6 separate regions of the Homo sapiens genome follow, and regions 2, 3, 4, 5 and 6 are each linked to region 1. Evidence: promoter capture Hi-C in 16 types of primary human blood cells and fetal thymus (Javierre and others, 2016). All regions are on one chromosome and are shown on one strand. The core of a region is centred on a gene start or on the middle of the fragment in contact, and the rest is flanking DNA. Distances in the headings are between cores, read along the strand shown.

What was found. The method cuts DNA at HindIII sites, captures the fragments that hold promoters and counts their contacts. A CHiCAGO score of 5 or more calls a contact.
Region 2: a contact is called between the fragment with the promoter of OSGEP here and the fragment with the promoter of RNASE4 in region 1, in 15 of 17 cell types (megakaryocytes, total CD8 T cells, naive CD4 T cells and 12 more). The highest score is 16.2, in megakaryocytes.
Region 3: a contact is called between a fragment that was not itself captured here and the fragment with the promoter of RNASE4 in region 1, in 16 of 17 cell types (total CD8 T cells, activated CD4 T cells, fetal thymus and 13 more). The highest score is 15.0, in total CD8 T cells.
Region 4: the fragment with the promoter of RNASE3 here is called in contact with the fragment with the promoter of RNASE4 in region 1 in 10 of 17 cell types (neutrophils, megakaryocytes, erythroblasts and 7 more); the score reaches 15.8 in neutrophils.
Region 5: a contact is called between a fragment that was not itself captured here and the fragment with the promoter of RNASE4 in region 1, in 10 of 17 cell types (M0 macrophages, activated CD4 T cells, non-activated CD4 T cells and 7 more). The highest score is 7.8, in M0 macrophages.
Region 6: a fragment that was not itself captured here is called in contact with the fragment with the promoter of RNASE4 in region 1 in 1 of 17 cell types (M0 macrophages); the score reaches 5.2 in M0 macrophages.

The regions. Positions count from the first base shown.
Region 1 is chr14:20,683,032-20,686,527 of GRCh38, forward strand. RNASE4 (ribonuclease A family member 4) reads left to right here and starts at 1,529. Exons shown (of 2, transcript NM_002937.5): 1 at 1,529-1,727. TRY-GTA5-5 (tRNA-Tyr (anticodon GTA) 5-5) reads left to right here and starts at 242; the gene lies at 242-330. TRP-TGG3-2 (tRNA-Pro (anticodon TGG) 3-2) reads left to right here and starts at 985; the gene lies at 985-1,056. It also overlaps a transcript of ANG not described here. RefSeq lists enhancers at 1-220, 421-610, 751-880, 1,681-1,820 and silencers at 1,011-1,060, 1,331-1,450. The HindIII fragment of the contact is 4,966 bases long and covers 1-2,049 here.
Region 2 is chr14:20,453,277-20,456,772 of GRCh38, forward strand. It overlaps OSGEP (O-sialoglycoprotein endopeptidase), which reads right to left and starts at 1,536. Exons shown (of 11, transcript NM_017807.4): 1 at 1,293-1,536. The coding sequence starts at 1,407. APEX1 (apurinic/apyrimidinic endodeoxyribonuclease 1) reads left to right here and starts at 1,950. Exons shown (of 5, transcript NM_001641.4): 1 at 1,950-2,118; 2 at 2,302-2,427; 3 at 2,638-2,825; 4 at 3,392-3,496. The coding sequence starts at 2,370. RefSeq lists a silencer at 1-186, promoters at 1,449-1,893, 1,523-2,060, 1,725-2,059, enhancers at 1,484-1,573, 1,994-2,213 and cis regulatory regions at 1,520-1,850, 1,781-1,936, 1,807-1,848, 1,845-1,850, 1,861-1,893 and 2 more. The HindIII fragment of the contact is 3,687 bases long and covers 1-2,055 here.
Region 3 is chr14:20,470,744-20,474,239 of GRCh38, forward strand. PNP (purine nucleoside phosphorylase) reads left to right here. Exons shown (of 6, transcript NM_000270.4): 2 at 1,565-1,734. Among named protein-coding and RNA genes, the nearest start is that of PNP, 3.1 kb to the left of the region's middle. The HindIII fragment of the contact is 1,587 bases long and covers 747-2,333 here.
Region 4 is chr14:20,889,768-20,893,263 of GRCh38, forward strand. It overlaps RNASE3 (ribonuclease A family member 3), which reads left to right and starts at 1,618. Exons shown (of 2, transcript NM_002935.3): 1 at 1,618-1,684; 2 at 1,915-2,581. The coding sequence starts at 1,920. The coding sequence ends at 2,402. All of the region lies in intron 1 of LOC100507513 (a long non-coding RNA gene), which reads right to left. The HindIII fragment of the contact is 4,045 bases long and covers 1,584-3,496 here.
Region 5 is chr14:20,492,368-20,495,863 of GRCh38, forward strand. No RefSeq gene overlaps it. Among named protein-coding and RNA genes, the nearest start is that of RNASE10, 11 kb to the right of the region's middle. The HindIII fragment of the contact is 1,819 bases long and covers 639-2,457 here.
Region 6 is chr14:20,550,008-20,553,503 of GRCh38, forward strand. No RefSeq gene overlaps it. Among named protein-coding and RNA genes, the nearest start is that of RNASE9, 9.3 kb to the right of the region's middle. The HindIII fragment of the contact is 3,221 bases long and covers 1-3,128 here.

The sequences.
Region 1 (3,496 bases), core at 279-2,778:
TGAGCAGCCTCGGTATGCCCGAGTTTCAGGGGCGCCTGCTCTGCTTGGGAGCCCCTCAGTGAGGCAGGGGAATCCAGATTTAGAAAGGTTGTCCTCAGAACCTCGGACGCAGGACTGTCTTACAAGCTGGCTTTGTGACTCTGCAGTAATTACTTTCCGGGTATAAAGAGATTTCTTTCTTTCCCGTCTCTGGTTAAGGATGTCTCGAGTAGGGATTTTTAGGAGAGTTGTTTCCGTGCTTCCTTCGATAGCTCAGCTGGTAGAGCGGAGGACTGTAGTACTTAATGTGTGGTCATCCTTAGGTCGCTGGTTCGATTCCGGCTCGAAGGAGACGCTGCTGTTTTGGGGTTTACGGTTGCTCTTCGTTTGTGCAAAAAATCTCTGTATCTTGACGTGATCAAATCTGTTTCTGTCTCTCACCCTTGTCCGAAGGAAACAGCTTAGCCGCGAGGTGGGCTGCGTTAATCGCGTCTTGAAAAGTTGGTTACCTTTCTGAAAGATAGTAGACCCGAATCGTCCCACCGTTGGGGGAAGGCACTGTTGTCTTACCGAAGTGTGTTATATTTTGGCTTCTACGTTAAGTCCAAAGGCCGGCAGATATATACGTATCGCGCGTCTGTCCTGGGGCTCAGTACCCTACAGCCTTGCAACCGAGCTCAGCTCTGGCCCTCGATCTCTATTTCAGCCCCCTCCAGGTTCCCTCCAGGCCCTAGCGGGCTTAAATCGCTCCCCGGGCTCAGTGAGACACAAGCATGTGACCTAAAGTCTAAAAAGCTGCCTTCCTTCACCCCATCCTGCATCTGGATCGAGGAGAATAAGCCAGAGAATAAGCCACACTTGAAACTTGGTGAAGATGGAAGGAATAACTAAATAAGGCCTAAGGGAAATGTCACAACAGAGGAAAAGAAACAAAACAAAAAACCTTCAGAACAGCAGGCGGAAAAGAGAAATTCAGAGTGATAGGAAGCACCACTCAGCTACAGTGGCTCGTTGGTCTAGGGGTATGATTCTCGCTTTGGGTGCGAGAGGTCCCGGGTTCAAATCCCGGACGAGCCCTCGTGGCTACTGTTTTTCCACCCCCTTTTGTCAACTACTGAAAAAAAGTCTCCGTTAAATTTGAAACACAAACTGTCTCGCGATGGGCTGTCCTGCCAAAGAAAGCAGCAGCGAATAAGTACGTGGCAGATGGTGCTGTCGACCAGTGTCAAGACCAAGTTTCATGGGTTCCTGGACGCTCAGCCAGGGGTAGTCTCTGAAGGGCCGCCTGGCAATTGGGAGCAGAAGCCAGTTTCCCGCCATCTGCTCTCCGTGGAGGCAGTGCTCTCGCGGCTGCTGCCCGTTGGGGTCCAGCTGAGGAAGGAGCGCGGATCCCAGGCTCGTTCTTTGCCTGGGCTGCCCCTGCGGCCCCTGGGGCGGGTGCTGCTGCGGCGCCAGCTCCAAGGGCGGATCCAGGCGGGAGGGGCCTCCTCGGAGAAGCGGGGCGCGGTCCCAACTACGCAGAGGCTGGCACGCCGACCCTCCACACCTCACCACGCCCCCATCTCCGTCCGTGTACACACACTCACACAAGGACGCCAACCCCACCTAGATGCAAAGCAGGATTCAAAAGAACATCTTTGCGTTTTCTACCGGCTCCCCATCATCGTACTAGGGAGGAAGAAGCGGGTGAGAAACAAAACTTCTTTCCATTGTCCTGCCCGTTTCTGCGGACTTGTTCTGAGGCCGAGGTAGGTTCACACTCCTGCTCCTCCTCCTCCTCTCTGGTAGCTTCATAAGGGGCGTTTAGGCCGGGGAGTCCTTTCCTAGTAGAGGCAGCTTGGGACTCCTTGGGGAGGAGTTTGCGGGACGGGGCTGGAGAGGGAGGAATGGGGAGGGACGTGAAAGTCCCGTATTTGTATGAGTTAACGACTTTACATTCCCACTCAGGTTTACTTTGCGCAGCTGGGCACAGATGCCAGCTTCTATTGATTAGTAGGCTTGGAGGGGGACCACAGAATCGCCGAACCTAAGGGAAGCCCTAGGAGGCCTGCACTTGCCCACAACTAAGAAAGCTTTGCTAGTTATTCAGGCTAATCACCAGCTTTTTGAAGCAGGCCTTAGTTTTTTGCAAGCGTAACTAACATTTGGGGATCGGTGTTTTCTGTTTACTCTCCTCTGCCTCCTCACCCTTAACCCACCCTCAGCCAGTGTTGTGCAATTCTTAGAGACACTTGCCAACAGCCTCTTCTCTAAGCCTTCCTACTGGAAGGTTGGGATCCTCCGTTTTCTCGCTCTGAGACAGCACGTCAAATGCTAATAGCAGCACATGAGTAAAGCGCAACATCTTTATTAAAACAATTTCAGCACCACTCAGGGGGCTAGGGAAATCTCAGATGAGCCAAGACCCTCCCTCGTGACAGTAAAAATCTTATAATCAAGTCATAATGTAATCAGTAGAAACCCAAGGGACATCATTATCTGTGGCACAGGACCACCTTCCCAGAAGCAGCCTCAGGTATTCAAGACTTACTTAACCACAGAGCCACTAACAAGTTTTGCAAGAGGATAGGTTTATTACATACGCTTCAATTCAAGCAATTCTTTTACTGATGACAAGCAGAGTAAAATAATTTTTGAATTTATGGTAATAGTCAATGTAGGTTTCCTTCGAACAGCAACTTTCAGTGGCCCCTTTAAAGTTAGCTCTGATTGTCTAGAAAGTACTAGTATGGAATATAAAAGTTGTGTGGGCCCGGCACGGTGGCTCATGCCTGTAATCCCAGCACTTTGGGAGGCCGAGGTGGGTGCATCACAAGATCAGGAGTTCGAGACCAGCCTGGCCAAGATGGTGAAACCTCGTCTCTACTAAAAATACAAAAATTAGCCGGGCACGGTGGTGAGCACCTGTAACCCCAGCTACTCGGGAGGCTGAGACAGGAGACTCTCTTGAACCTGGGAGGCGGAGGTTACAGTGAACAGAGATTGCGTCACTGCACTCTAGCCTGGGTGACAGAGCAAGACTCCGTCTTAAAAAAAAAAAAAAAAAAAATTGTGTGGTGCATTGGAAAGCTTCCAGGCCGGCGAATGCAATGAGTTCCTTGGGCAATACATGTCTCTTTCTCTGTTCCTCAGTTGGCTCTTCTTTAATATGAGGGGTGGACAGAGTCTCAGAGGCCCCTCCCACTCTTGTTCTATGACTCCATGGAGTGGTACGATGTTAGTAACAGGACATGAGGCACTCTAGTAATGTGGAGATGAACTATCGTTTGGCAGAGAGGATGGAAAAAATCATTCCAGGAAAAGAGGAATGGCTTTAGCTATTGTTGAAAACAGATAATCAGGTTATAAGCAGGCAAGAGTAAGAGGTTTGTCAAGTTATTGTTGGAAGCATTGGTCACTGTGACTCAAATTAAAGTAGCTGGATAAAAAAGTGGACCAATGAAGGTCAGTGAAACCTTTCTTTAGGAGTTTTTATTGAATCTGTATTTAAGCAGATTCTCTGTAATTCTCTGTAAAC
Region 2 (3,496 bases), core at 286-2,785, 230 kb before region 1:
GCCCTCTCCTATGTATGCAAGTGTTTGAGGGGAGAGTAGCAAGATATAATAGCTTATTTAAAATATCAATTAAAAGTTGTAATGTGTTTTGTACTTTTTTTTTTTTTGAGACAGAGTTTCACTCTTGATGCCCAGGCTGGAGTGCAATGGCACCATCTCGGCTCACTGCAACCTCTGTCTCCCGGGTTCACGCAATTCTCCTGCCTCAGCCTCCCAAGTAGCTGGGTTTACAGGCATGCGCCACCACGCCCAGTTAATTTTTTGTATTTTTTAGTGGAAACATGGTTTCTCCATGTTGGTCAGGCTGGTCTCGAACCCCGACCTCAGGTGATCTGCCTGCCTTGGCCTCCCAAAGTGCTGGGATTACAGGCGTGAGCCACCACGCCCAGCCGTGTTTGGTACTTTCATCTAATCTTCAAGACCTAATGATACAGGTATTATTCCCATTTTAAAAACAAAGACCAGGCCCGAGCGGTGGCTCATGCCTGTAATTTCCACACTTTGGGAGGCTGGGGTGGGCGGATCATCTGAGGTCAGGAGTTCGAGACCAGCTTGGCCTGGTGGAAACCCCGACTCTACTAAAAATACAAAATTTAGCTGGATGTGGTGGCGCACACCTATAGTCCTAGCTACTTGGGAGGCTGGGGTAGAAGAATCGCTTGAACCTGGAAGGCAGAGATTGCAGTGAGCCGAGATCGTGCCACTGCATTCCAGCCTGGGCGACAGAGCAAGACTCTGTCTCAAAAAAATAAAATAAAATAAAAAATAAAGACCAAATGTCCAAAACAAAAATATTTAATATGAATATAGCAAAGCCAGCCAGTTCTGTCTGACATGTAAGCCGGGAGTCTTTCCACTCTCATCTCTCTACTCATCCTAGAATATTTCAAAAAATAATTTTTTTTTAAAAAGGGAGTGTATATTCAGGGCAACTGGAATCTATACTCCTGCTAAGCGTTTTTTAAACAGAATATTTCGAGTCCATCTCTATTATACTGTTTATCATGCTGTAGTATAAACATCTATTTATATGTCTGACTCCACAGCAGTATAACATCTATTTCTGAATACTTAGCACATAAAATGCGCTCAGTAAAAGGTAAATGAACTCATCAGATCCACGTCCAAGTGCCTGTAACTCTTCTAGTCATCAGCCTTGTGACGTTAATAATGTCACATAATTTCAATGAGACTCGGATCGAAAGCTGCACCTCACTAGTATTTAGGAAGATGGAAGGCTGATTCTGTGCGGGGAAGTGCGCGGAAAACTCTTAAGTCCCCTACTCACCAACCTGTGCCAGGAGGCGTGACGTAAGTCCGCCGCGGGTTCGCCAGCACCTTGCCATCCCGCACCACGCCCACGCCAATCTTATTGGCGCTGCCTTCAAAACCCAGCACCGCCGGCATGGCGGAGGCTGGGAGAAAACGCCGACAGGACTCCTGGCAATGTCAGGAGCTGTGGAGGTCCTCACTAGTCCGCGCTGGGCCGCAGCTTTCCGGAGCGCAGAGGAAGCTGGCCAGCCTGCAGATAGCACTGGGAAAGACACCGCGGAACTCCCGCGAGCGGAGACCCGCCAAGGCCCCTCCAGGGACCTGTCTTCCTAACTGCCAGGGACGCCGAGCCAACTCTGTGCCTTACATTCGTATCCGTTTTCCTATCTCTTTCCCGTGGTCCAGCCCAGCCTTCTCCACTGTTTTTTTCCCTCTTGCACATAGTTAGAATCTTAAGTCAGTGTCACACAATGTGCTGTGCATCTGGCACAACGATAAACAGCCCGAGGGAGGGTTGGGGACCTAAGTGTCCTAGAGAATTAGAGGAGGGAGGCGAGGCTAAGCGTCTCCGTCACGTGGTGTCAGACAGACCAATCACGCGCATTCTTCGGCCACGACAAGCGCGCCTCTGATCACGTGACCAGGTCCGCTACCCACGTGGGGGCTCAGCGTGCACCCTTCTTTGTGCTCGGGTTAGGAGGAGCTAGGCTGCCATCGGGCCGGTGCAGATACGGGGTTGCTCTTTTGCTCATAAGAGGGGCTTCGCTGGCAGTCTGAACGGCAAGCTTGAGTCAGGACCCTTAATTAAGATCCTCAATTGGCTGGAGGGCAGATCTCGCGAGTAGGGTACAAGGCACTATGAAATGATCTAGTTTCGTGGGTGAGGGGCTGAAGGGCCTATGATGCACGGAGGCGGGGAAAGGATTTAGAGATAACGTGGTTTGAAAGGCGGGACCTGGTGCGGGGACGCTCTTGGGAGGAGTCTTCTCCCCAGCCTTAGCTGGTTTCATGATTTCTTTGCGTCTGTAGGCAACGCGGTAAAAATATTGCTTCGGTGGGTGACGCGGTACAGCTGCCCAAGGGCGTTCGTAACGGGAATGCCGAAGCGTGGGAAAAAGGGAGCGGTGGCGGAAGACGGGGATGAGCTCAGGACAGGTAAGGGAATGAAATCAGCCCTTCTTCCTAGAAGCTGCGGCGGGGGTGTTTGTCATTCCCTTGATGTACGGTAAGTACGGGCCGACTCATTTTTGCAGGGGTTTGTGAAGAAGTCGCAGGAACCGTAGGCTTTCGTTGGGTCTATAGTTAACGCCGGATCGCAGTTGGAAACCACCAGCTTTTTGTCAGTATATATTACTCATTTTATAGAGCCAGAGGCCAAGAAGAGTAAGACGGCCGCAAAGAAAAATGACAAAGAGGCAGCAGGAGAGGGCCCAGCCCTGTATGAGGACCCCCCAGATCAGAAAACCTCACCCAGTGGCAAACCTGCCACACTCAAGATCTGCTCTTGGAATGTGGATGGGCTTCGAGCCTGGATTAAGAAGAAAGGATTAGATGTGAGTGGAATTTGAGGGAAAGAGACATTTTTTAGTATTGAATGGTCTTAGGGTTTAGTCACCCCTTTTCTCCGTTTAGCCTTCAGGCTGTTTTATTTTTCTCCTGCCCGTAGTTTTCTGTGGGGCTTCCCCAGTCTTGCCAGTTGTATTTCCTAAATGTCTGTTCCTTCACTTCCATTGCCATTTTCTTTTTTAGTGTTCTCTCCTCTTCCCAGAATGTTGCAAAAACCTCTTCACTATACTTCCTCCATTTTATCTTCCTGCATTGCATTCCATATGAAGCATGTCCTCCATTCCATTAACCATAGCTTAAAAATCTTAGCTTGCTATCCACTGCCTATAGAAAAAACACATCTCCTTGGCATAGCATGTAAGACTTTCTTACCTCTCTATATTTGTTTTCATTTATCTAGCTTAGAATTGTTTGAATATTGTGCTGCTTGACTCGAACTCCTTAGGCCAAGAGACTGTTTAACCCGTGCGTATCTATGACTTAGCATATAGATTATTCAATAAATGTTCTGCTGAATTGATAATACGTTTTCCACCTTTCTTTTCACTTACAGTGGGTAAAGGAAGAAGCCCCAGATATACTGTGCCTTCAAGAGACCAAATGTTCAGAGAACAAACTACCAGCTGAACTTCAGGAGCTGCCTGGACTCTCTCATCAA
Region 3 (3,496 bases), core at 290-2,789, 210 kb before region 1:
GGAAGGACAGGAAGAAGACCACAGGCAGGTGGAAAGCAGGAGAAAGATTCAAATACTTTGTGTAACAGAGCCATAGGTCTTTGGAAGTTGTTAGCAAGTATTCAATTCATTTTCAGATTGAGCCTATAAGATAGATGGGGCCAATTTACATCCCTTGTTTATACCTGAGAAAATAATTTAAAGCACAAATTACATGCCTAAAAAGACAATATTGGGACTAGAATCTAGGTCGAATTCTGCTTCCCTCCAGACCAGCAATTCCTAAACCTGGTTTTATTTTATTTTATTTTTATTTATTTATTTTGGAGTCGGAGTCTCGCTCTGTCTCCCAGGCTGGAGTTCAGTGGAGCGATCTTGGCTCACTGCAACCTCTGCCTCCCGGGTTCACACCATTCTACTGCCTCAGCCTCCCGTGTAGCTAGGACTACAGGGGCCCGCCACCACGCCCGGCTAATTTTTTTTTTTTTTTTTTTTTTTTTGTATTTTTAGTAGAGACGGGGTTTCAACATGTTAGCCAGGATGGTCTCGATCTCCTGACCTCGTGATCCGCCCACCTCGGCCTCCCAAAGTGCTGGGGTTACAGGCATGAGCCACCGCGCCCAGCCCCTAAACCTGGTTTTAAAATCAAAATTACATGGGCTTCAGAATCTGTTTTTTGTGGGGGTTTTGTGTGTGTGTGTGTGTGTGTTTTTTATAGGGTCTCACTCTGTCACCAGGCTGGAGTGCCAGAATCTGTTTTTCTAACAAGCTTCTGCTGAGAATTTGTGTAGTCAGTCCTGGTTTAACCTTTGACAACCAGTACTGTGGACTGGGTCTGCTTTTTTGTACAGCAGTTTATCTAGTTTTTTGTCTGGAATTAACCCCCTTGTGATCCAGGGAGCTAAGAATGGCACGTAGACCTCTACCAGGGGTGGTCCCATTGTGTTTTATTGGTTAAAACAAAAAAGAAATGTAGCCCTTAAGTCTTTGGCTGAGGAAGGAACTGGAGGAATGAGGGTTCAAAAGGAAATTTGAGTTTATCTCTGCCTTCATAGTAGTTGGTCTTAATTACATTTTGAATGTCTTTGGGGAACAGGTAAGGTAATAAGGGGGATTTTACTAGGTGGGCACCACCCTCAGGAAGGGCTTAATCCCATTTTGAGTACTCTTCTTGGGCTCCCTCCTGGCCAAGCCCTTTTACCCTCCCTAATTTGATTATTTCCTTGCACTTCCCCGTACACTCTGGCCCCTTCCTCTCTAAACCTTTGTCATAAGGATAAGTATGCAGCTTGCCAGTGTTCAGTGGATCCAACACTGGAGTTGGGCCTGTTAGTAGAAACAGGCTTTATTAACTTTTGCCAGGCTCTAGAATGGAGGTAGTTTCATATCAGACTTGTAGTGGGCTTGATTCAGAAAGAAGGGTGGCTGAGTAGATGGAAGAGCATAGTATGGCCTTTCCCTCTGTGCCAGCTTCTCCGTCCCTGCTGCCTCAGTATACCTGCCAGCCTTTTTGCACCGAAGGTCATTTGTCTGTGATGCCCTTGGAATGGGAGCAGAATTCACCTTGATATTTTTTCTCCCCCAGATACACCTATGAAGATTATAAGAACACTGCAGAATGGCTTCTGTCTCACACTAAGCACCGACCTCAAGTTGCAATAATCTGTGGTTCTGGATTAGGAGGTCTGACTGATAAATTAACTCAGGCCCAGATCTTTGACTACGGTGAAATCCCCAACTTTCCCCGAAGTACAGGTACTGGCAAGGGAAAGTGGGGAATGGGACTGAGGGATGTTCTTGGAATTCTGTGGAACACAACCAAGGAGGCCAATGTTTCTACTCCTTGACCTAGCATTTCACTGAAGACAAATGTTGTAAGAGAGGAGAAAAGCCCACCATGAGTCAGAGTGACTTTAGGAGATGCCTCTAGCAGACATCCCATAAGAGACAGGACATGTGTGTGTCAGTGGACTGAGGCTAAGACTCAGAAGAGGGCCAGGTGACAGGGGCCAAGTAAAGGGCAAGGGTTGTTTATTTGGTTTACGTAATTTCTCAAATAACTAACTTCTGTTGGTTTATTTATTAATTTTTAAGATTTCTATCTTCTTTTCCCTGGAGAGTTAAGAATTTTTTTTTAAGACCTGTCAGCAGGAAAAGACCTTTAATAGCTATTTTTTTAAACTCTTTAACACAAGACTGGAAGAGCAGAGGGAGAAGGTGAGGGAAATATTAACAGAGGGTGTGTGAAGGGCATACTTCTCTAAGGGAGATAGTAGTGACGCTGGCTCCACTGGCCACTCCTACCCCCAGTGAGAAGGGCACTGCATTAAATGATAAGTGGGTTAGTTTTTTTAAGCTTATCAACATGTTTATTTTTTATACTCCACTTGGGTTTCCTTTGTCAACTTTATTACTGTTTTTGTTTTGTTTTTTTGCATAAGCTCCTCTATCTTTGAGAATTTCTCAGCTCTTCCTCTTGGTTCTAGTCCCTCTCCCATTCCCTAAGGGATAGGTTGGCCGTCTATTAGAAGTGACTGCCAGATAAAAGAAATGGTAATAATGGCTGTTATGTCTGTGGGGAGTTATCTTTGCACTCCCACGCACCCCTCCGTGGGCATGTGTTCCCATAGGACTGTTCCGTGGGTCATAAGGAAAGAGACACTTGCATGCGTTCAAATTCTTTCCCCCTTGTTCAGTAGCCTCTTCTTTAAGAAGCCAGAGTAAGTATACTATGAGCTTGCTTGCTGGACTGAGGAGGCAGGTAATTAAGTTAGGGCAATAGATAAGAATACATGTTTTGAGAACTTTGAAAAATTTGAAGAGGTCTATAATTACTGCATTCACTGTACTCACTTTATTTTGAAACAGAGTCTCGCTCTGTCACCCAGGCTCGAGTGTAGTGTTGTGATCTCGGCTCACTGCAACCTCCACCTCCCAAGTTCAAGAGATTCTCCCACCTCAGCCTCCCGAGTAGCTGGGATTACAGGCATGTGCCACCACACCTGGCTAATTTTTGTATTTTTAGTAGAGATGAGGTTTCACCATGTTGGCCAGGGTGGTCTTGAACTCCTGGCCTGTTGATCCGCCTGTCTTGGGCTCCCGAAGTGCTGGGACTACAGGTGTGAGACACCGCACCTGGCCTATTTTTAATTTTAATTTTTATAGATTTACAGGGGTACAATGCAGTTTTGTTATATGGATATACTGCGTGGTGGTGACGTCTGTGCTTTAGTGTAACCATCACCTGAGCAGTGAACATTGTACTTATTAGGTAATTTCTCATCCCTCATCCCCATCCCACTTTCTCACCTTTCCGAGTCCCCAGTGTCTATTATTTCACTCTGTAGGTCCATATGTACACATTTGGTTCCCACTTATAAGTGAGAACATGTAGTATTTAATCTTCCATTTCTGAGTATCTACTTTTTTTGCTCACTTTTTACTCTCTGGCAGTATGGCTTGTATTATCTTGAAATTTCTTTAAAAAGCCCTTCCTTCTTTGTGTGTTCATGCTGAA
Region 4 (3,496 bases), core at 368-2,867, 210 kb after region 1:
CATACTATAGACACTTAAGTGCAAATGTTTCTAGCCAGTGTGGCTGTCAGCATCACAGAGGGGATACTCTACGTATCATTCACCTTTACATTCTCATCACCTACAAAAATGATCTCCACACAATATACATGAAAAAATAAACTTGCCTCATGATAAAGCTGCTAATGAATGTCGGCCAGAACAGGACTTCAAGGCAGAGCAATATTAGCTGCGCATTGAGTCCTCACCAGGTCACCATTGTGTCCACATTTACCTAAGGACCCCAGTGATAAAATTATTGCATTTCTAAATGACAGGAAAATTGGACGGTAGTAAAAATTAGGCAGATTAACTGTTGGAAGGTATATTATATCATTTAAGGGTCTACTTTCCATTTTCTAATCTCAAAGCTAGACCAGATTTAACATCTGTTAGTACCCAGGCCTTACCTTTGCAATTCACTTCTCACCTCTGTACAATTTCCCCACATCATCCCCTGTGCCCAGAATGCTCATCTCTTCTCTAAATCCCCTGAAAATCCCCTGCTTATCCTTTAGGACCTGCTGAAATAAACTTTTTTTTGAAGTTTTCCTTATTTCTCAAGCCAAGTGATTTCCTTCACCAGCAGTGTCCCTATGACACCATGTTCACACAAATGCTATTACCTCTATCACACTGTAATACAATTATATGTCTACAAGTACTTTCCTGTGTTTCTCTGAGGGCCAAGAATAAATGTATGCTTTGTGTATCAAACTGTACACTTGACCTCTATACTTTCAGGAATACAGTGCTCTGTCCTTAAATGTTCATTTGTAAATACAGAACCATATTCTTGTTAATATCACAAAATGAAACTTACCAGGAAGATGAATGACAACCCCAGAACACACTGTTTTGTAGAAAATACCATAGGCTGAAAAGATCACAGGAATACCGAGTGCTAGGTTGGAATCTTTCATGACACCAAATGTTCATTCATCCTCTGCCAGATTTTACAACTGTCCTCGGTGTGTTTTTAGGTTATGTAACTTTACACAAAGTGGAATCAATAATCAGGGCAAGACTTAAGAGAAAGTGGATCCAATGCAAGAGGAGTAAAGAAAAAAATTCCTCAATTGTATGGAGCAGATTGTTTTAATTATCTACAGAATCTTGTGCCCCAAGAAATTAATAGCTCAAGTTTCCAGCAAGAGTGGTGGATGAGATGGAGAGCATTTATGTGAGAGAGAACCAAGGATATTACTAAAAATGGAAGGGAAGCTGGGTTTCTCCTGGGCAAACAGCCCTCTGTGGCTCTATTTCTCCTAACTACTATGCCTGCCTTCGTGTCATTTAGTCATTTAGGGGCCTGCCAGAGGACAGTTATAAAATCTGTGGTCATTCTGCCGGCAGCGTATAGTTTTCACCCAGAGTCCAGATCCCACCGGCAAAACTCTGTCTAACACAGGATGACTTGGAATTAGAGTCCGTATAGCAGAAAGAGCAGCAGGGCTGTCCTTGGGTATCCGTTGCTCAGCCAAGTCATCAAATAAAAAGGATGATTGCACAAGTGGACCATGTGTCAATCTGTGGGTTTCTGCATGGCCAGACCCACCAAGGGAAGCTTTATTTAAACAGTTCCAAGTAGGGGAGACCAGCTGCCCCTGAACCCCAGAACAACCAGCTGGATCAGTTCTCACAGGAGCCACAGCTCAGAGACTGGGTAAGTCAACAATCCCCAGAGCTGGGACAGGAGGGGCAGCGACAGGGCAGCACCTGAGGGAGAGGTGAGCTGAAGTTAGTGCTTAGGAGATGTGGCACACTTTGGGGACAGGAAGAAAAGGAAATGCGACCCCAGAGTGGCAGCAGAGGGGCCTGTGGGTTGAGACACTATAGAGTGTGTCATAACCGAGACCGGATCGGGGAGTAGTTACTTCTCTTCTTTTCTTACAGGAAACATGGTTCCAAAACTGTTCACTTCCCAAATTTGTCTGCTTCTTCTGTTGGGGCTTATGGGTGTGGAGGGCTCACTCCATGCCAGACCCCCACAGTTTACGAGGGCTCAGTGGTTTGCCATCCAGCACATCAGTCTGAACCCCCCTCGATGCACCATTGCAATGCGGGCAATTAACAATTATCGATGGCGTTGCAAAAACCAAAATACTTTTCTTCGTACAACTTTTGCTAATGTAGTTAATGTTTGTGGTAACCAAAGTATACGCTGCCCTCATAACAGAACTCTCAACAATTGTCATCGGAGTAGATTCCGGGTGCCTTTACTCCACTGTGACCTCATAAATCCAGGTGCACAGAATATTTCAAACTGCACGTATGCAGACAGACCAGGAAGGAGGTTCTATGTAGTTGCATGTGACAACAGAGATCCACGGGATTCTCCACGGTATCCTGTGGTTCCAGTTCACCTGGATACCACCATCTAAGCTCCTGTATCAGCAGTCCTCATCATCACTCATCTGCCAAGCTCCTCAATCATAGCCAAGATCCCATCCCTCCATGTACTCTGGGTATCAGCAACTGTCCTCATCAGTCTCCATACCCCTTCAGCTTTCCTGAGCTGAAGTCCCTTGTGAACCCTGCAATAAACTGCTTTGCAAATTCATCTGGAAGTGTCTGTGTGTCTTCCTCGGCCGCTCTGCTGTCATTTAGTGACAATCTGCTCTAGAGATTTGGGTTTATCATGAATCTCTCCCCCTCAATATCTGACCAAATTCCTTAATTCCCCCATCATCCTTCATGTGATACCTGATTCCAGGCCTGCCTTAAAAAAAAATCCAATTGAGTCAACTTAGCATTGGTCTCCCTAGCCTTAATATCTCCTCTAAGCAATTTTCCATCCACTGACTCCTCCCCCAACACCAACCTATAACTTGTGTATAGATCTCCACTTGTTTTAGTTGTATTCCAGAATTGAGCCCAATTTGATATTGAGGTCCCATTTGATGCTTTATGGTCCGACTATGGTTTTTATTGACATGATTTCTATCCCAAGAAAAAAAGAGCTGCAGTGAATCAGCTGAAAATGCACGTGCTTCATTATGATTTATGAATGATAAATTTTGATAGAATTGAACGTTATGATAGAAAATAGAAAAGAAGAAAGTAGAAAAAGTCAAGAATGCTATAAATAAGGTGAAACCAAGATAAAGAAAAGTTTAGCCTCAGGGATATTTCTTTTAAATGGGCACATCAAGTCTCCAGCTATTAGCAATCGTAATAGAGGTGGAACCAGGGTTTGAGTCAAATGTGCAATAAGATAAATTGTTCCGACAGCAGTAAGGACAGATTGTAATGCTGACTGGAGGAGAGGTGGACATCTTTCCCAAAAGTTCCATGTCCTGGAGATGGGGAGCCGCTGGTCACGTGGGAAGGAGAAGGGGGAGGAGGAGGAGGAGGAAGTGGGAGCACTCATGAAGGTGAGTTGGCTCCTGCCCATTCTGCCCTCCATAGATGTTCCCAATGGCGAGTCAAAGGTTCATTCAACACCTGTCAGGAAGGGCACAGCCTCGAGAATTCA
Region 5 (3,496 bases), core at 298-2,797, 190 kb before region 1:
TTATTTATTGCAGACAGTTTTGCAAGCTGACTTTAATCCTATCTTGGAATGAGGTGGAGTATAAAAGAATACAAATCAACAAACATGCTAATGTATTTTAAGAAGGAGATAGGAGAGTTTGGAAATTGGAAAGGGAAATTCTAAATTTTGAGAATTGCTTTCTACTAAACCATCATTGTCCAGGAGTAACACACTAGCTCACTTCTTAATTTCAAGTCAGAAACATTTTCCCAAGCTTATCCTGGCCCGAAGGAACTGTGACGCTGCTGACCACTGATGCTCACCAAGCAATCATCTCTTTGAGGTTTGGTCTCCCACTTGAGTCAGGGAGAGAATGTATGGGGCAGGTTTATTTTCACTGCACATATTTTTCAATGTAGATCTTGTTCATAGTTTTAACTGGGGATTGGTTGGTGTGAGTAACTCGCATGAAACTGAAAAATGCGCTGGACACAGTGGTTCATGCCTGTAATCCCAGCACTTTGGGAGGCTGAGGCAGGCAGATCACCTGAGGTCAGGAGTTCAAGATGACCCTGGCCAAAATGGTGAAACCCCATGTCTACTAAAAATACAAAAATTAGCCAGGTGTGGTGGCGGGTGCCTGTAATCCCAGCTACTTGGGAGGCTGAGGCAGGAGAAGCTTGAACTCGGGAGGTGGTGGTTGCAGTGAGCCGAGATCACGCCACTGCACTCCAGCCTGGGCGACAAGAGTGAGACTCCATCTCAAAAAAAAAGAAACTGAAAAACTCAGATAAGATCAAGTTTGCACCTGTAAGTTGTGGATAGGATCCAATGTATCTTGGATAATTGTGCAGCCTCCACCTCCTGAAACCCTTTCTGGGTGTCCATCTGGTTTTTTTGGACATGGTCCCCCAGATACATTTGCTAAGTTACAACTATATCTTAACAAATATTTATAGGGACCTATGGGGGCTGGGAATAATAAAAAGGGTCTAATAGGTTGGGCAACCCCATCTCTACATCTCTACAAAAAATTAAAACATTAGCTGGATATGGTGGTGCCCACCTGTACTCCCAGCTACCTGGGAAGGAATTTTTAAAATTTTATTTAAAAAAAGGAAAGAAAAAAGAACCCATGATGATCAAAAGATTAGAAGCTACCAGTTTAGCTGGTACATCTTCTTCAGACTTTAGTGGTTTTGTCATTTGGATTGAACGCAGTTCCCACTGAAACTTATTTGGCCACTATCTGAAGTTGAAATATCACACAGTGACAATTGTTTGAAAATTTCAGCTCCCCTTCTCCTGCCTCCTCTTCATCTCTAAGTATTTTCACTCCCATCTACTCATGGCAGTATCTGGCCACTGCCCATTCTCAGACCAGAAAGGGATCAGGAAAAGGCCAGTGTGTGGGGTGAGGCTGACTTCCAACAGTTGAGCTAGTACAGAGCCACTGAGCATTTCCCTCCCTAGGGCTCACTCTTCCTCAAAACTGCTAGTGTCTTGCAGATCCTCTCTCAAAACAAAAGAGGAAGTCAGAGGTGGAGCAGGGAGTGGTTTGAACTACTGGTTTTACTGGAAAAGGATTCCTGTTCCAAACCTCAAGAGCAAGTTCTTCGATCTTGAGCAGGAAAGAATTAAGGACAGGGCGCAGAGTACAGTATAGTTAAAACAGTTCATTAGAAACTACTCTATTACAGAGTAGGGCATCCTCAGAGAGCAAGAGGAGGAATGCCCCTACTTTAAATGTAATGCTTGCTTATACAGGATATTAAGGTTAAGAATAGTTTACTTTGGGAGTCCGAGGTGGGTGGATCACGAGGTCAGGAGATCAAGACCATCCTGGCTAACACGGTGAAACCCCATCTCCACTAAAAATACAAAAAATTAGCCGGGCATGGTGGTGGGCACCTGTAGTCCCAGCTACTCGGGAGGCTAAGGCAGGAGAATGGCATGAATCCGGGTGGCGGAGCTTGCAGTGAACCGAGATTGCGCCACTGCACTTCAGTCTGGGCAACAGAGCCAGACTCCATCTCAAAAAAAAAAAAAAAAAAAAAAAAAAGAATAGTTTACTTTATTATAAAGGCTTGTGATCAAGTTGTGACAGGCTATTAGTATTGTTATTCTCCGGTGTAACTATTGATTTCAGCAATAATTTATGAGTGTAGTATTATCTTTAAAGTGAAACCCATGTTTATTTTTATGTGTTTATTTGCTTACACCTTCACCACCACAAGAAACCCTCCCACCCACCTTTTTTTTTAAGACAGAATTTCACTCTTGTCGCCCAGGCTGGAGTGCAGTGGTGCGATCTTGGCTCACTGTAGCCTCCACCTCCTTGACTCGATCCTCTTTGATCCTCTGGATTCTCTCACCTCAGTCTCCATGCCCAGCTAATTTTTATTTTTATTTTTTTATAGAGATAGGATTCTACCATGTTGCCTGTCACGTGTGTCCGTGTGAAGAGACCACCAACGGGCTTTGTGTGAGCAATAAAGCTTTTTAATTACCTGGGTGCAGGCGGACTGAGTCCAAAAAAGGAGTCAGCAAAGGGAGATGGGGTGGGGCTGTTTTATAGGATTTGGGTAGGTAGTGGAAAATTACAGTCAAAGGGGATTGTTCTCTGGCGGGCAGGGGTGGGGGTCACAAGGTGCTCAGTAGGGGAGCTTCTGAGCCAGGAGAAGGAATTTCACAAGGTAATGTCATCAGTTAAGGAAGGAATCGACTGTTTTCACTTCTTTTGTGATTCTTCAGTTGCTTCAGGCCATCCGGATACTTACACGTGCAAGCTTGGGCTCAGACGCCTGACATTGCCCATGGCTGGTTTGAACTCCTGAGATCAAGCAATCTAACTGCCTTGGCCTCCTGAAGTGCTGGGATTACAGGTGTGAGCCACCATGCCATCCAAGAAACCCATTTTTAAACTAAGAATGCCTTTTTCCATCAACTCATTTCCTCAACCATAAACATTTTGTGATTAACAGTGCCCAATTTCCTGGGAAAGTAACCCAGCAGGTTTGGCTTCATCTGGCCTTTATTCAAGATGAGTCACTCTGATTGGGACACCTCGAATACTGGTGCAAATACCCAAAATGAAACAAAACTGCCTGAACTTACTCATTACCCCCTTCCTTACAAAGCCAGCAGACTTCCTTTTTGTAATTTCCTTCCCCTTCAAGTTTCCTTTCCTTTCCTGTTCTTTCTTTTTTTTCATTCCTTTTTCCTTTCCTTTCTCCTTTCCTCTTTCCTGTCCTTTCCCCTTTCCTTTCTTTTTCTTTTCTTCTTTTCTTTTCTTTCCTTTCTCCCTTCCCTTCCTTCCCCTCCGCTCCCCTCCCCGCTTCTCCCTTTTCCCTCCCTTCCCCTCCCTTTCCCTTGCCCTTTCCTCCCCTCCTCTTCCTTCCTCTCCCTGCTCTCCCCTCCCTTCCTTTCCCTTCCTTTTCCTTTCCTTTACCTTTCCCTTCCTTTTCCTTTCCTTTCTTCTCCTTTCCATTATGGAAATTTTTAAACATGCACTGAAATTAGAAAGAAGCATATG
Region 6 (3,496 bases), core at 268-2,767, 130 kb before region 1:
TTAACAAGTGGGCATGCATGCTATTGGAACACAGGCCTAGGACTTTCTTTCTCCCTCTGCCCTCCCCTGTGACCTCCACATTCTCCGTACAGAAAGGGGCAGGAGGTATGAAAGGGCAGACATTGGGTAACACTCACTATTGCCTTAGTTCCCAGGTACTAGCAGTGCCCCTTTACTGACCTTACTCTTCTTCCTGTTGTAAACACCTCCTTAGAGTTCTTTTCATGTCCAACCCTTGGTCATCTTCCATCCTGCCTCTCAAGCAGGGTAAAATCCCTCATTCTCTTACTCTTATTTTCTCCTGAAATTCCTCCCTTTCATATTCTTAATGTTCCCTCCTCCTTAGAAGCCCACTCTCTATTTTGATGTTTGCTGCACAGGTTCCTAGACCAATATGGAAAATCCAAAAATGTGCTGCTCTCCCCTTTGTTGATCTCTCACCTGAACAATGAACACAGTGCATGCTGTGGAATATGGGTAAAAAATTAGTTCATCAAAATGTTTATATAATTGAAAATTCTGTATTATATGTAATGTATTTGTTCATTTAAAAATACTTATTGAATATTAAGTGGCAGGCATTAGGCATTGAGGATAGAAAAGAATGAGAGAATGCTTGAAATACTATGCATTTCGTTATGGAAATACTAGGGCATTATTACACTAGGGTGTATATTGAAGTGGTGAGTTGCTTGTACCCACTTGTAATGAACATATTTTAAAAAGAGAAGGAAGAAAATCTTTGACAATGGAATAATGTCAAATATTTGAATATTTTGAATTAAGTAAGGCAGCACATTTGTGTATATACCCATCACTGCGAATGTTCTTGTTCACTTGAAGTTATAATCTAGTAGCTGGAAAACATGTCAGTGTCATCATTCTATCTTATGGGAAATGCCCCTGAATTCAAAATCTCACTTGGTTAAAGACTAATTTACCTTCAGTTTGATAGGACTCGAAGCACGCTCCAAAGGCTCCAGGTATCTCCTTTGATCTTTCAAGAAGAACTTGATATTGATGACTAGCTCTTGTAATCTTTCAACTATGGAAACTTAGGTGGAATATTTCTTCTTGTATTCAATGCAAATTATGCAATGAATGCATCAGATGTGATGAGGAAGGGATGAGCCACTGCTTCCTTGTGTTTCTAAAAATATGACAGTTCACAAATGTCATGATCTTATGTCAGAGACATGTGAGAAAGATCCATCTTAGAGAAAGAGAAGAAAGATTGGGATAAAATATGTGATTTCATTTTTTAATCCTTATTTGTTGTGTGACAGGAAAAATAGGAAACAGTGGACAGAGAATATGATCCCCTTACTTGTGACACAAGAGGTAATGATGAACAGTGAAAGGGTATATAAAAACACTTCGAAAATTTTATATTATAGAGAAGATACTGTGTGAGGTATTGTGACTGCTACAATATATACATATATATATATATGAATAAAAGTTATTGGCTCTGAATTTATCAGGAATATTAATTCAACTTTGTACCAAAATATTACAGGGCAAATGAATAGGGTTCAATTTAGCATCACCAATTTTCAAGGAGCAGCACAGGGATAGTTAGTAGCTTTGGTTTTATTCTTTTCCTAATGTCATCTAAGAATATCGTGCTAGAATAGAAAGGTGTGAATGGTTAAATTAGGTGTCAGCTTGATTGGGTTGAAGGATGCCTAGATGGCTGGTGAAGCACTGTTCCTGGGGGTGTCTGTGGGGGTGTTTCCAGAGGAGATTGGCAGGTGAGGCAGTTTCCAGAGGAGACTGGCAGGTGAGACTGAGAGAGGAAGACCTGCCCTCAATGTGGGCAGGCACCATTCAATTGACTGCTTGCTCCCCACAACCTTCCCACCCTGTGGCAGCTCTGAGGCCTTCAGCCTCAGACCAGCTTCTCTAACAACCTTGCTTGCTACCAGCTTCTGTCATTCTCTAGCTTGCATATGGCCTGTCGGCCTATTGTGGGACTTCGCTTTTAATCATGTGAGCCAATTCTCCCTAAAAAATTCCCTTACGTATACCTATCCTATTGATGCTGTTCCCCTGGAGAATCCTGTCAACTAAAGAAAAAAAAGATCCAACTTTTAAATAATTAAAATTAGTTTTATTCAGAAGTCTTACTGAGGTCTACAGGCTGGGAGGCCTATAGCCCAGGAGCAGCCCTTTAGAGGGGTTCTATTAGATGGCTCCCATGCAGTATTTTAGTTGACAATTTACAGGTGGTAAAGATTCAGTATATGTGAAATCACATCAAATTTGCTCAGAAGTTACATTAAAGCAGAATCACATCAAGGTTTGGGTGTAAGAGTACATCTGGTTATAGATTACAGGAGTATAATCACTAACCTGGTCAGACCTTATTTTATGCGTAAGAAAACGCAAGGACTGGTGTAATTTATCTTTAGGAATATAGTGAGTCAGGTAAACAGACACGGAGCATGGGGACCGTGCACTCTATTCTGTGGTATCTTCAAACATTCTTCTCAAAGAGCTGCAGGTTGTCATAGAGTGAGGGGCTTTGTGAAATTATGCTGGCAAGCAGAAATGAGCAAAAATGGCATTTACTACTTTGTCTCGCAACTTCCACTAACACAAAGGGACGGGAGCAACTGTGCTGTCTGTTCATTGGGCTAGACTTTTCTCCTATTTACTTAATCAATAACATCATAGACATCAGAAATTTTCAAAGAGAATACCAATTGGGTTTATTCTGGTTAGGAAACAAAATGCTGTGTTTATAGTTTTTCTTACTCTTGGGAATGCTTTGCCTACATTCTTTCACTGAGTAAGTATAATTTAAAGTTAGTGTTGCATCGCCACTTCATATCCATTGAAATTGCTATTAGATATTAAAAAAAGAAGTATTGATGAGGGTTTTGAGAAACTGGAACCCTAGTGCACTACTGATTGGAATGTAAAATGGTTCAGCCACTGTGGAAAACAGTATAGTAGTTTCTTAAAAAAAAAAAAAAAGAATTACCATATGATCCAGCAATTCCACTTATGCGTATATACACCAAAAAAAAAAAAAAAATGGGAAACAAGGACTCAAACAGATATTTGTTTGTCAATGTTCATAGCAACATCATTTACAGTAGCCAAATGGTGAAAACAACCAAAGCTTCCTCAATGGATGAATGGATAAACAAAATGTGTTATATACATACAATGGAATATTATTGAGCCTTCAAAAAGGAGAAAATTATGACACATGAGTAAAACTTGGAGACATCAGGCCAAGTGAAATAAGCAAGTCACAAAAGGACAAATGCTGTATGAGTCTACTTATATGAGGTATCTGGAGCAGTCAAATTCATAGAGACAGAAAGGAGAATGGTGGTTGCCAGAAACTGGTGGAAAGGATGAAAGGGGAATTATTATTTAAGTGAGTAGAGAGTTTTAGTTTTGTAAGATGAAAAAAGTTCTGGAGATGGATCACAGTGATGGTTGCACAACAATGTGAATATACCTAATGCTATTGAGCTGC